Linked DNA regions of Homo sapiens: region 1 is linked to region 2. Evidence: promoter capture Hi-C in human tissues and cell types (Jung and others, 2019). All regions are on one chromosome and are shown on one strand. The core of a region is centred on a gene start or on the middle of the fragment in contact, and the rest is flanking DNA. Distances in the headings are between cores, read along the strand shown.

Evidence for each region. The method cuts DNA at HindIII sites, captures the fragments that hold promoters and counts their contacts. A contact is called where the count stands out against the background at its distance.
Region 1: a fragment that was not itself captured here is called in contact with the fragment with the promoter of ZNF25 in region 2 in 1 of the 25 tissues and cell types used here (stomach).

The regions. Positions count from the first base shown.
Region 1 is chr10:38,149,025-38,151,757 of GRCh38, reverse strand. It overlaps a transcript of ZNF37A not described here. Among named protein-coding and RNA genes, the nearest start is that of ZNF37A, 56 kb to the right of the region's middle. The HindIII fragment of the contact is 5,746 bases long and covers 1-2,733 here.
Region 2 is chr10:37,975,361-37,978,060 of GRCh38, reverse strand. ZNF25 (zinc finger protein 25) reads left to right here and starts at 1,414. Exons shown (of 6, transcript NM_145011.4): 1 at 1,414-1,555. It overlaps ZNF25-DT (ZNF25 divergent transcript), which reads right to left and starts at 1,306. Exons shown (of 6, transcript XR_930830.4): 1 at 1,056-1,306. RefSeq lists enhancers at 1,171-1,400, 2,441-2,530 and a silencer at 1,441-1,850. The HindIII fragment of the contact is 22,972 bases long and covers 1-2,700 here.

The sequences.
Region 1 (2,733 bases), core at 125-2,624, 170 kb before region 2:
CACTACACTCCAGCCTGGGCAACAGAGTGAGACTCCATCTCAAACAAACAAACAAAAACTAAAAAACAAAAGATTGAATATACAGAGTTTTCTCCAGAAAATCTTCAATTTCTATAGATAATCTTCAGTCTTCTATAGAATAAAATGAAAGATTACAAAATTGAAGATTAGAAAATTACATAGAGAGCTGGGCATGGTGGCTTACACCTGTATTCCCAGCACTTTGGGAGGCCAGGGTGGGTGGATCGCCTGAGGTCAGGAGTTCGAGACCAGCCTGGCCAACATGGTGAAGCACCGTCTCTACTAAAAATACAAAAACTTAGCTGGGTGTGGTGGCGGGCACCTATAATCCCAGCTACTTGGAAGGCTGAGGCAGGAGAATCACTTGAACCCAGGAAGCAGAGGTTGCAGAGAGCAGAGATTGCACCATTGCACTCCAGCCTGGTCGACAAGAGCTAAACTCCATCTCAAAATAAATAAATAAATAAATAAATAAATAAATAAATAAATAAATAAAAAGAAAGAAAATTCCATAGAGAAACAGCTATTTCTCGATCTTCTTGATTCTTGTGCTCATGACAAGACTGCAAGTTACTCAGTTCCACTGTCTTTTGCATCTGTGGTTGTGGTTGAAAGGAATGGCCTGAATCATGCACCTCGTAACTCACAGAGTGGCCCCATGCATTCCAGTTTTCTTTTTTTCACTTAGATTCTGAATTACCCATGTAGTTAAAGGTGTTTTGTTATTCTTCACAATTCTGTCTGTGGCTAATCTTATGTTCATGGGATTCATTTGAGTCTGGAACATGTCCCAGATGGCAAGATGCAGCATGTCACAATATTTTCAAAATCCATGAACACAGTTGTTTGGCAGTTCCACAGTAAATAAGTATTTGGAGTCTTAAGCTATTTCTTTTAAATATGTTCAGGTACTGATAGTGACACTGTTGAGTTCTACTTGAGCCCTGAGGCACTGGGAAACAGTGATGGTTAAAGAAATCACCACCTTGTGTTCCTGCCTTACTGCAAAGAACTTCCCTTCCCCATTGACTTAGCTAAGACTCACGGATCCCCCTCAAAGGATGTCCCACCTATGACAAGGTTAGACACAGACCCCGCAAATGCTGTCTTTGTTTCATGAAAGTTTAGCTGAACTGCTTGTCCCCACGGATGCATTTCAGGATAAAATGCTAATTAACTCAGCTTTGATATGGGCTTTACCATGTCCTTCAGGACCTGCTCATTAGTTAGAGACCCCTTGGACTGCATAACTTCTTCAAAGACATTTTATTTTATGCTTAATCATATAGAAATGTAATGATTTGATAGATTAACCAATGTGGTTTTCCTCCCTTGTTCTCCAGTTGCCCACTATTTCTCTCCCATTTAGTCTAAACCTTGGCATCTCCTCTTTCAAAGGGGAAGTTTTAACAAAAGGACAAAGAGAAAGAAAAGAGCAGACACTCACATTTTGAGTTTTAATAAACTTGGCAGAATGATGACACAAGAGTGAGTTTGTCCCATCCCAGAGCAGATGAGGAGCTTCTGAATGAGAGTGGGGAAAGGGATGGTGCTGTTGACACTCGATGGTGATTACACTCATGCAGACAGGAACCTTGAGTGGTGGGGGCTGAAGGTGCTGAGCGCAACGCCCCAGGCAGACAAGAAGAAACTTGCAAGTGCAGGTACAAGATGAGGAGTCACAGTGAAACTTATCACAACATTCAACCTCTATTCAGGAAATACTTCACAACACTTACCAGGTACTTTTCTAGGCACTGGACATAACGCAAAGAATAAAGCCATAAAAAAAATTCTATCCCCGTGGAACTTACAATTTTGTGCAGAAGAGCAAATAGTTCACTAAAGAAATTAGCAAAACCGGGCATGTGCGGTGGCTCACGCCTGTAATCCCAGCACTTTGGGAGACCAAGGCGGGCGGATCACGAGGTCAGGAGATTGAGATCATCCTGGCTAACATGGTGAAACCCCGTCGCTACTAAAAATACAAAAAAACTAGCCAGGTGTCGTAGCATGCACCTGTAGTCCCATTTACTCGGGAGGCTGAGGCAGGAGAATGGTGTGAACCCAGGAGGCGGAGCTTGCAGTGAGCCAAGATCATGCCACTGCTCTCTGGCCTGGGCGACAGAGCTAGACTCTCTCTCAAAAAAAAAAAAAAAAAAAAAGCACAACTGTAGAATGTTGGAAGGTGTCAAAAGTTATGGAACAAAATGAAGAAAAGCGGATAGGGACTGCTGAGGGGTGGGCTACAATCTGAATTGGGGGTTAGGAGGGGATGGAGTGAGAATGTCCCATTTGATCATAGCCTTGATGCATGTGAGAGAGCCTGGAGGAGACAGTGGGCGAGAGCCTCCCAAGTGGCTGTAGCAGGCTGGGTTCTGCATTACATAGGGCACATTAAGTGAAATGTGATGGCTATTTTGTGTAATCCTTTAAAATCCCAATAGAATTAGCACTGTCTAGGAGGACTACACTTTGAAATAATATTTTCAAAAATAATTATTTCAAAGAAAGCATAGCAGTTGCATCCTATTGAGAAGTGGGAATATTGGATAATAGGTTAAGCTATCATTTTGTGTTAGAATATTGAAGCAAATATGGCTTGGTGTGGTGGCTCACATCTGTAATTCCAGCACTTTGGGAGGTGAAGAAGGGTGGATCACTTGAGGTCAGGAGCTCAAGATCAGCCTGGCCAACATGGTGAAACCCCGT
Region 2 (2,700 bases), core at 165-2,664:
TAACTACCTGCGTGTCATAGAGATACCAGAAACTTTACTTTTCATTTGCATAATGGCAATTAACTAACACTGATGGCTACCCTAATTATCAGGTGAATTTCAGATGAATTATGCATAGCAAATGTTGCTGTACAGTCATCTTACTTGAGGACAAGTTATTTTTACCTTGAGGAAATAGAATGCGTTGTACCAGACCGGCTAATACAAAAAATGATAGTTCTTCCTGTCTTCATAAACTCATTAGTGGGTTGCCTGTGACGCACATCGCAGTCTGGTTTAATGTTTATTCAATAATGTAACTGTTTTGTTCTTTTCTCCATCTGTGGAGAGAATTTTCTGGGTTGGCAAGAGGCTTTATTTTAAATTATTTCCTCAATACTTCCCATCCAGAAAGGTGGTGTGTGTGTGTGTATTATGTGCGCATATTTTTATATGTATATATATGTGTGTTTATACACATGACAATATATACGTTTTTTTCTAGATGATTCTACATGTTTTAATGTAATAAAGTTATTGACCAGGAAATATATAATTTGTTTTACATATACAGCCAAGTCCTCTCTCTGTATCCGCGGGGGATTAGTACCAGGACCTCCCTGGATTACTCAAATCCAGGGATGTTCAAGTCTCTGGTAGAAAATAACCTGATATTTGCATAACCTACACACCTCCTCCTGTATATTTTAAATTATGTCTAGATTAATTGTACACCTAACACAATGTAAATACTATGTAAATAGTTTTATTGTATTGTTTAGGGTATAATGACAAGGGGGAAACTTTGTACATGTTCAGTAAGATAGAATTTTTAAGTATTTTCATTCTGAGCTTAGTTGAATCCATAGATATGCACCCCCAGGATAAGGAGGGATGACTATATATATTCCTTAGTGAAATGATAGTCATGATACTCTATACCATTAGGTTAAAATTTGTGTAAATTCATGAGAAGGATGTTCACCTAACATTAAGCGCTTTTGCTTTTGGGAAGTGGTATACTCGTTTTCTGTTTTAGCTTATACATATTTTGTAGTTTATTACGTTTCGCGTACCGTTTGCACAATTGTGAAAGCTAGCATTCCTAAGAGGAAGCGGTTACAGGGCATTATCCTTCATTACTCCACGTACTCCTGTACCCACGGAGTTCAATCACTTTAACAAAACTGCCCATCAGTGTTCCTTGGAGCACCTCACGGTGGATTTCTGTCTTCAAGCCCAGACGTGCAGGGTGCAGCTCTCCGGCCATCACTGAGCAAGGACAGCGCCCTCTCCCGGAAACCCGACAGCAATCACTCAGGCCGCTGGAGGCGGCCGCGCCTCACGACGTCATCCAAGATGGAGTCGCAGCCGGGCCTTCTGGGAAGCGTAGTTCTGGAGTAGGGCTAGGGAAACGTTCTGCGCATGTGCAGTGTCTTCTTTCTGGCATTGGCGTTTTTTTGGTCTTACGCCCTAGGGTGGGGAGAGGACTCCGGTGCCTCCGGGTCTGGGCTGGGCCGCAAAGGGCGGGGCCTGGGCCCGGCGCGGGCCGGGAGCAGAGGCCGAGACCCTGCAGGTGTGTCGAAGGCTTTTGCGGGCGGGCAGGGCCTGGGAGGCGGGGTCTCGAGCCTGGAAGCCGCCTCCTGGCCCCGGAGCGGCCTCCGCGGAGGGCCCTGGGTGGGAGCCGCCTGGTGGGGAGGTTGGCTGGCTGCGCTGGCGCCCCTGCCCGGAATGGCGTTTGCGCGACCTGCTTGAGGGGCGGCCAGAGGAGGCCTGCGGTGCTGGGCAGTGGGCGCCCGGAGCAGCCGCATTGTGTGACGTGACCGGAGCCGCCATGTGAGGCGCGCTGGCCGCTGCAGACGCGGCGCTCCAAAGCCGCAGGGACGTGGGCTCTGGTCCAGCGTCTGTAGGTGGTCCCAGTGCGGCTCGACGCGCATCTGGCAAATGATGGGGGCCTTTGGGTACTGAATAGGGTAATAGATGTAAAGTATGATACAGGACTCAATAAAGGTGAGCTGCTTCTATTATTACAAAACATGCTGTTTTCATTATTGGCTCATTTAATCATCGTAACCATCCTTTCGACTTAACCATCTCTATTAAAATAAATGTGACTATTAAAGATTCAGAGAGAGAAATCCGTTTACCCACAGTATTAGCAGGTGGGATGTAAATCCTCACTTTTTCCTCTGAGTTAATGCGCCTTGCCACACTAAAATCCAGTCTTGACTTGTATTTAGCACAGCATTTGCCCCTTGAGCACCACCAGAACGTAGCTGTGTGGTGTACTTGAACCCAGTCTCAACCAGGTAGTGTTCTGTTTCCAAAAATGCTTGGGGAATCTTCAGAGCACTTGAGTCAAAAGGTGAATTATTTAAGGCCTTCCTGCATCCTCCAACCTTAGTCTCTTCTCAGAGGACTGTGAAACGTGTAAATTGAAACCACAATTTGAGCCCTCAATTTTGCATTTTACAGGAGAAGCTGGGAATCCCATCCAGCCCAGAGGCTAGTTTCTAAAGACAGGAAATGGGACAAAAAATTTTTTTAAAGATGAAAACTGCAGTTCATCAGTTCCTCCATTTTATGGTGGTGATCTTATAATGCCTCTCATTGGCTGATAACTGAGCTTAGGCATTTCGTAAGCACCATGCTAGCTGGAAGTGGTTTTTGCTGCTTATTTTAGTTTTTTTTTTTGGTACATAATGTACATATTTGTGGGGT